Regions from separate parts of the Homo sapiens genome. Here region 1 is linked to region 2. Evidence: promoter capture Hi-C in 16 types of primary human blood cells and fetal thymus (Javierre and others, 2016). All regions are on one chromosome and are shown on one strand. Each heading gives the region's core, a stretch centred on a gene start or on the middle of the fragment in contact. The rest is flanking DNA. Distances are from core to core; before and after follow the strand shown. Region 1 holds the start of BPHL (biphenyl hydrolase like). Region 2 holds the start of TUBB2B (tubulin beta 2B class IIb).

What was found. The method cuts DNA at HindIII sites, captures the fragments that hold promoters and counts their contacts. A CHiCAGO score of 5 or more calls a contact.
Region 1: the fragment with the promoter of BPHL here is called in contact with the fragment with the promoter of TUBB2B in region 2 in 1 of 17 cell types (activated CD4 T cells); the score reaches 5.3 in activated CD4 T cells.

What each region holds. Positions count from the first base shown.
Region 1 is chr6:3,117,347-3,121,625 of GRCh38, forward strand. It overlaps BPHL (biphenyl hydrolase like), which reads left to right and starts at 1,365. Exons shown (of 7, transcript NM_004332.4): 1 at 1,365-1,501. The coding sequence starts at 1,395. It overlaps LOC107986556 (a long non-coding RNA gene), which reads right to left and starts at 1,301. Exons shown (of 4, transcript XR_001743928.3): 1 at 443-1,301. RefSeq lists an enhancer at 599-1,234 and a silencer at 1,273-1,662. The HindIII fragment of the contact is 8,418 bases long and covers 1-2,273 here.
Region 2 is chr6:3,225,658-3,229,890 of GRCh38, forward strand. It overlaps TUBB2B (tubulin beta 2B class IIb), which reads right to left and starts at 1,996. Exons shown (of 4, transcript NM_178012.5): 1 at 1,830-1,996; 2 at 904-1,012; 3 at 502-612; 4 at 1-154. The coding sequence starts at 1,886. RefSeq lists enhancers at 979-1,639, 1,640-2,298, 3,594-4,150 and a silencer at 1,903-2,192. The HindIII fragment of the contact is 13,618 bases long and covers 1,123-4,233 here.

The DNA of each region.
Region 1 (4,279 bases), core at 115-2,614, 110 kb before region 2:
GTAGCCACAAATCTGCCAGTTATTTCCAATTAAGGCAGAACGATTGACTTAAAAAGCAATAGTTGTTTTTTTTCTCCACTGAGCTTTCAATTAGATAATGTCTATAACCTTTATAAAGCTGCAATTATACAGCCAAAAGAAAAAAAATTAATTGTGGTAAAACATACATAAAACTTACCACTTAAACCACTTTTAGGTGTGTAGTTCAGTGGCAGTAAGTACACTCACAATGTAATGCAGGCATCACCAAAATCCATCCCCAGGACTTTTTCATCTCTCCAAACTGAAACTCTGTCCCCATGAAACACCAACTTTCCATTCCCCCTTCCACCAGCCCTCAACAACCCCCATTCTATTTTCTGTCCCTATAAGTTTGACTCCTCTAGGTACCTTATTATATAAGTGGAATCACACAGTATTTGTCTTTTTTTGACTGGCTTACCTCCCTCAGCATAGTGTCCTCCAGGTTCATCCATGTAGTAGCAAGTGTCAGAATTTCGTTCTTTGTTCAGGCTAAAAAATGTTCCCTTGCATGCACAGACAACATTTTGCTTATCCATGTATCTGTTTTTGGACACTTAAATTGCCTCCACCCTTTTGGCTATTGTGAATAGTGCCGCTGTCAACGTGAGTGTAAAAACATTTCTTCTTGTACACCCTGTTTTAAATTCTTTTGGGTTATATACCCAGAAAAGAAAATGCTGGATCATATAACTGATTTGTTGAGGAACCGCAGTATTGTTCATCACATGGCTGCACCATTTTACATTCCCAACAGCAATATACAAGGGCTTCAATTTCTCTACATCTTCACCAACACTAATTTCTGGGGGTTTTGCTAGTAGCCATCCTAATGGGCGTGAAGTGGTATAAACAAAATTTAGATCCCATCATCTCCGAAAAGCAAATACACTTCCTAGTACTAGTCAGTACTAAATAGGTGCACAGCGTTTAGAACTTTACTTGATCCAACATAGCAGCCTGCCTAGAGCCGGAGCCCCGCCCACTCCGGAGTCCCGCCTGGACGCCGACGCAGCGAGGGCGCTATGGCTGGCGGCCTCGCCTCCTGGAAAGGCCATGGTCGCTGAGGCGACGAGCGAGGGCGGGGCAGCGCCGACGGGGACACTCATCCCGGGAGCCAGAGCCAGCACCGAGAGGGGACGGTCTACGCGGGTGCCGGCGGTTCCAGGACTGCGAAACCACGAGCCGAGTTTCGGTCGCCCATGGGAAAGCACCCGGCAGGGCGTGGCTTCGGGGCGGGGCGGGCAGAGGGCGGAGCAGGATGGAGAGGCGAGGTGGGCGGAGCAGAGGGCGTGGCTTCGGGGCAGAGTGGGCCGGGTACCGCGCTTGGTCTTAGCGCATGCGCACTCCCGGCAGCTACGCGACCTGTGACCATGGTGGCTGTGCTGGGCGGCCGGGGCGTGTTGCGCCTGCGGCTGCTTCTCTCAGCGCTGAAGCCCGGGATCCACGTCCCACGGGCCGGACCCGCGGCCGCGTTCGGGTAATGGCGGCCACCTCGCCCCGGGGATCCCCAGCATCGGCGCGCTCGAGGGGCGGCGGGAGGGGCGCGTGCCGACAGCAGGAGTTCCCGGCGCGCGGGCACGGGGCGTGGGCGCGGCCTGGCTGCCCTGTCGCCCTTTGTGCCGCGAGACCCCGATCCTGGGGGCCAGCCGCGCTTGGTGCTCGAGCCCCTCGATCGTGCATGCGCCTCGGTCAGCCTCAGTTCAAGGAGTCTGGAGCCGTGGAGGCTTGGGCTATAGAGTGCAGCCCCTTCAGTGTGCAGACCAGAGAGACCCAGGGAGATACATTTGCCTGTAGTATGGACTCACCCGTGACGGAGCACGGACTAGAATCCCAACGCCCTCATTAGTCCATTGCTCTGTCCAGAGTCCACACTAAGGGCATAAGGACAATAATCTCTTCTTTCTCTTATGTCAGAAATCAGCCTGAGCCTGAGTACCGCTAAGGCTTTAATCACGGGTCCCGAGAGCCCTAAGTCTTCTCTTTGCTTGCTGATCTCGTACCTTAATGTGCAAAAGAATCACGTTGGGAACTGAAAATTCAGAATCCTGGGCCTCACTCCCAGAGGATCTGATCTACATGTGTGGAGATGCCCAGGAATCTGCTTTATTCTCTTTTGTCCTCCCACCTGTCCCCCCATTTCAGGTAAAACAATAACAAAAAAACTGGATTAATTTCTGACCTTCTGTCTTGAAAATGGATACTCTTGGTCCCAAGAGATACTGGGCAGAAATGTGGATAGAGCGGCATGAAGCTTGTTTTACTTTATTCTCTACATACATCCCTACACACATGCAAACACACGTATACAACGAACGTACACAGTGCATGTGCGCAGTTGACTGTTGATGGGCTACTTTCATAAAGTCAGTACTAGATAGGTACACAGCGTTTAGAACTGTACTTGATCCAACATAGAAACTTTTAGTTTGAAAACTTGATTTAGAAGGAGAAAAGAGGGCAAATCTGACCAGCTTTTAAAATTTCATATTGCAATTGACTAGCTCCTTTAATTTTAGAATTATTATAAGATGGTCAGGGCTATTTTGATAGATGGAAAAACATGTTAATGGCTACAGCTGTATAAATTAACAGTGAAAATGATTATTTTTTCCAGTTTCCTGTCTGCAGAAAGGCATCGAAATAAGTTACTGTGATTGTACCAATATAGTTCTTTTTTTTTTTGAGACTGACTCTCGCTCTTTTGCCCATGCTGGAGTGCAGTGTTGTGATCTCGCTCACTGCAACCTCTGCCTCCCAGGTTTAAGCGATTCTCGTGGCCTCAGCCTCCCGAGTAGCTGGGATTACAGGTACCTGCCACCATGCCCGGCTAATTTTTGTGTTTTTAGTAGAGATGGGGTTTCACCATGTTGGCCAAGCTGATCTCGAACTCTTGACCTCAAATGATCCACCTGCCTCAGCCTCCCAAAGTGCTGGGATTACAGGCGTGAGCCACCGCTCTCGGCCTACCAGTATAGTTCTGATAGGTTATTTAATGGTTGAGGAAGGCCCCATCCATCTAGTTGCATTGCAGATCATTCTTCCTAAAATATCTCTGAAGAAACAGGTTTTTCTGGATTTTGTACGGCCGTTTTATAAATGCAGCTGCAAGTTGATATGACATATAATCTGGGAAAACAAGCAGTGGTATTAGTTAATCCTGAAATGCAGCTGTAGCTCAGTGTCAGTAGGTAAAAGGATTCGTGTAAAAACTTTGCTTCAGAATAGCCAGTGCCCAACCTACAACTGACTTTTGTTCCAAAAACTTGTTTGTAAGTCTGCTGTTTGGAACTTTGACCCTTATTTCAAAATCCGTAAGGTGATTTATTCCTGGGTCAGGTCAAGAAAAGCCTTTTCTACCTGAAATTGGATATTATGTGCAGTTATAAATATTAATAATTCACATAACCTAACAATCTTCCTAAAAAATATTTTCCAAGTTCAACCTTGGGATGCCCTGCCAGAGAATCAGAGACTGTCCTTCTGCTGACGCTTGCCACCACGCTGTATCTGGCAGTCAGAGTGTGGCCCCGGTGCCTGAGCCCTCTTAGGACTCTGTTCAGCCATGAGGTTAGAGAGGAATCATGGCCTCTGGAGTTCTAATGGCCCCGTGGCCACTTCCTAGCTCTGTGAGTGTGGGCAGATTGTTCAACCTCTCTGAGCCTCCTGCCTTGCAGCGTTTTTGTGAGGATTTGAAACAATAAATGTAAAAGCCTGGGGATATAATAAACATGAAGTAATTAGTAGGCACAATGGGAATATTTATATAATAGTACAATATATAAGAGATGTAAAAATAATTCATCAAGATTCATGCAAATTTCAAGCCCTGAAGGTAGCAAATACTTTATTGTAGATAATGGCTACTTCACAAAACATACACAAAAGAAATAGCTGAACATACAATATGATAATAGCAGTTTCTTTTTTTTTTTTTTTTTTTTTTTTTTTGAGACGGAGTCTCTCTCTGTCACCAGGCTGGAGTGCAGTGGCACGATCTCGGCTCACTGTAATCTTCACCTCCCAGGTTCCAGCGATTCCCCTGCCTCAGCCTTCTGAGTAGCTGGGATTACAGGTGTGCACCACCATGCCGGGCTAATTTTTTTGTGTGTATTTTAGTAGAGATGGCGTTCCACCATGTTGGGCAGGATGGTCTTGATCTCCTGACCTCGTGATCCTGACCTCGTGATCCACCCACCTGGGCCGCCCAAAGTATCGGGATTACAGGTGTGAGCCACCACACCTGGCCGATCCTAAG
Region 2 (4,233 bases), core at 746-3,245:
CCCGTGCCGCCCCCCAGAGAGTGGGTCAGCTGGAAGCCCTGGAGACAGTCACAGCTCTCTGACTCCTTCCTCACCACATCCAGGACCGAGTCGACCAGCTCGGCTCCCTCTGTGTAGTGGCCCTTGGCCCAGTTATTCCCGGCTCCACTCTGGCCTGCCAGAGGGAAAGAGAAATCTTAAGTCACCGGTGATTGTACTAAATACCTTACCTCAAACCCCTCAATATAGATCAGTGAGTCAATGCTCAGATAAGACTATTTCAGATTATCACCAAAATGGCCAAACGTTAAAATATTTGTTCATGAATATAATTATAAATAAGGAAGGCCAGGACACCAAGCTCTTAGCAGCTGAAAGGCAAACAATTTTACACTATATTAAAGCTAAGTTGGCACACCGCGGATGTTCTTCATGCTTTCCCTCTGGCAATCACACCTCTTCAGCCTCCACTGCCCAGCGTAAAATGAATCCCTCATGCTCTCAGCCACACCAGGCACTCACCAAACACGAAATTGTCTGGTCTGAAGATCTGGCCGAATGGTCCAGACCTAACCGAATCCATCGTGCCTGGCTCCAGATCCACGAGGATGGCCCGAGGAACATATTTGTTACCTGCAAGGAACAACAGTGACTTAGACCCTCAGGCAAGGACCTCTGCAGAGAAGGGCTTGGCGCCTGCTGCCATCATGCAGATGTTGCCCCAAACAAAGGGAGACCCACCATCAGGTTCTCAAAGGGCTCTGTTGGCATAAGGAAGCCCAATGAAATACTGCAGGGAAAGAGCGGGGATCCTAAACTGAATAGTCCACCCTCTCCCAGGGCCACACCCCTGGGGTCCCACGCAAGGGAAAGGGGAGAAGGTGGAAAAACTGAAGGGAGTGGGGGTGGGGCAAGGGTGATTACCAGTGGCTTCATTGTAGTAAACATTGATTCTCTCCAGCTGCAAATCACTGTCTCCATGGTAACTGCCAGTGGGGTCAATCCCATGCTCATCACTGATGACCTCCCAAAACTGAGACAGAAAGGCTGCATTTAGCCATGAACGATGCCCCCAGAAACGCCAAGGCTCACAATGAAATGTCCCCGACTCAGTTCCGACAACCCAACATTTCAGGAGCTTGAAGCTTTAAAGGGCGTCGTGACCCGGGCACAGCCGCGGGGCTTGTATTTTGCAGGTTCAGAAAGTTGAAACTGGGCGTTTCCCAGGCAAACAGCTGCCGCTCGCGGGGGGAGGTAGGGGTCGAGGGGGTAAGGACCAGCCAAAGCCGGGCAGTGGCGGAGCTTGGCGCACTGGTCGCAGCCCCAGGCTGCGGCAGGAGGCGAGGGCACAGGGACTGCAGCCCGCCAGGAGCGGGTGGGCGGGGAAAGAGGAACGCAAAGGAGCTAAAGGACCGCGGTTTTAGATTCAAAGCACGTCCTGAGACCGCAAGACAATCGCTCTCCTCCCCTCCCCCGGCAGCTCGACTCCGGTTCAAGCGAGTACAATTAATCCTCCTGGTGTCCCAGCCCCTCGCGCGGAGCGCCGCGCACAGCCTCGCGGACACACCCTCGTCTTCTCCAGGCACGCGTGCCTGCCAAGCAGCCAGCGCGGAGGGAGGCCGAGGGGGTGACGGGGACTCCAAATGAGTTACAGCAGAAAGAAAGAGAGGTGCCCCCTCCGTCCGCGAAAGTCACCTCCTAGCCCAGGCCACACTCGGCGGCACAAAGCGGCCAGGAAGGTCTGCATTTGGCGATCCCCAGGCCTTCCCAGGACCGCGCCTGGGGACCCCGAGGGGCTCTCGGCCCAGGTTCGCGCCCCCATTGGACCCCCTCCGCTGCGGCGCGCCCACCTTGGCGCCGATCTGGTTGCCGCACTGGCCCGCCTGGATGTGCACGATCTCACGCATGGTGCCTCGTCAGCGTCCTCCTGGTCCGGCGGCGTCTGGGTCTGTCCGTCCTCCCCTCACACACCCACTGCGGGGTCACCGGGAAGGCGCTCGGGAACCGACGGGCTGAGAGCGCCGGCCCCGCGGGCTCCGGCTTTTATGCAAGGAGGGTGGGGCGGCCGGCACAGGCCGCGCCCCCAGCCCGAGCCCCCCAGTCCCCTTCGCGCTGGCGCTCTCCAGGCCCGGCTGACGTAATGCTCCGAGCCCTAGGGACCGTCCGGGGGGCTGGACCACCGGCCCGCGGCCAATCAGAGCGGGCGTGCCGACCGGGAGAGGGGTGGGGGCTACCGGGAGTATGGTGGGGGCGTGCGCATTGTCTGGGGCTGTGGTGGGGGTCTGGGTATGGGGATATGGGGGAACAGTGAAGAAAAGGAGGGTGAGAGGGCGGCGAGGCGAGGGCCACCAGCGCGTCCTGACCGGGGTGGGGGCAGAGCTGGCACCGGATGGGAACGATGGAGGACTGGAGCATGTGGAGAAGCCGTCAGGTGCTCCAGTGCCGGCAGGTGGGAGGGCTGAGGTGGCACAGGCTGCTCCGCCACCTCGGACTGCGGCTCCTACTCGGCCACTGGCCAGAGTCCCTCCAGCCAACTGCCCCTGGTGAGACCACCGTCTTTTTCCTCAACCCTGGAGGCCAGCGACTGCCCAGGCGGCGCTCCGTCTCACAGAGGCCTGGGGGAGGACAGGTGGCCCCAGAAGGAAGTCGTGCTTGATGGCAACCGGGACACCTGCGGCCCATGAACACCAGCGCGGCCTCCGCCCCCGCCCCAGCGTGGGCCTGCTTTCTCCTTTGTCTGTCTTGGGCTGGTAGCTCCTCTCACTGCGCCGCAGCATCTAGGGGTGAAGCGACCTCGGAGCCCCTCAGCCCTGCCCGACCCTCTCCGGGAGTGCATAACGCCCCTGCTGGTACCCAGGAGCCCTCTGCCCCGGGGGTTGACTTTTGTTGCTCGCTAGTGATGGAGTGGGAGTGGCCGGTGGCGCTGCACTGACCGTCCGGAGGGCAGAAAGAGGGTGGGGTCCCGGGGGCGGGGCTGTCGGCGGAACAAAGGGCTCTCAGAAACGTGGGATACGCTGTGTAACCCAGTATTTAAAACCACACGACAGGCGCCCCACCCCCCCACCCCGCCCTCGGATTCAGTTCATCTATTGTCAAGTAAGAGGGTGGGTTCCAAGGGTGGCCCAAGCCCGAGTAACAAACTTTCTTATCTTCCATCGCGGCGACCTGGAGGTCCGAGGCTTCGTGCTGCGGTTGAAGGGTGGGGAATACGACTAAAAACTGCAGCCCAGCGCGCGCGAGACGACCCAAGACCCACGCGCACTCGCACGAGCGCGTGCACAGACTTGGAGCACAGACCCTCCCTTCAGATCCGCAGTCTCTAGGTACTGAGGCAGGAACTGGTCTCTTTGTTACTTTTCGCGCGCGCGTGTGTGTGTGTGTGTGTGAGAGAGAGAGAGAAAGAGAGAGAGAGAGAGACTAATCCTGCGTGCGTTTGAGGGCGGGAGGGGAAAGGGTGTCAGAAACGTTCACTGCACAACCTGTTCCCTGCAATTCGATGACTGAAGCGCGCCGCCCCACACTTCGGAAGGGCCGTTGGCGAGGTGACGTGACCTCTTTCATCCCCTGGCGAGAAAGGCCGAATGACCCGGGCGCACGCGGCGGAGCTCAGCCTGCAGCTGTTGAGCGAGACCCTCCCAGAACTATCAGCAAGCTGTCATCGCCTCCCTTTCCCGCTGTGGGGTGGAGGGTGGGGGGTTCAAGTCGATTCCAATGTACAAAGAGAAGTAGCGAGAACAAAAGCCCAGGCGCCCCCAAACATCCAGGGCGCCCAGACTGGAGCTCGCCGGCCGGTATTCCAGACCCGGCCGGCGTGCCCGGGTGAGGGTGGGGTCTACCGAGAGGCAGAGAGCAGCGGAGGGTCTGTCCACATGCCCTGCTCTCCCGGTACCAAGGTCTCGGGGCCTGACCTCCGAGTTTCTAATCCAGATCCTGCAGATGCCGAAACGTCGAGGGCTAGCAATTCCCAAGGTCATACAGCAAGTTGAGGACAGGGCTCGGACTGGAATCTCGTCTTTTGGGCACACCAGACCTCAGGGAAAGTGACCGCATCTCGGCCAAAAGGGCTGTGGCAGGTGTCAGCCTCGAGGTGGCGGCTCTGGTGGGACCAAGCTGCGCCGGAAGGAACAGAGCTAGGGCGGCACCCGCGCGGCGAGTGTAGACACACTCGGAGCGGTCACCCCCTCGCTGCGAGCTCCCAGGAGCAACCCTGATGCTCAGCGCTGGGGGGTGGGGTTGGGGGCCGCTCAGCTCCAT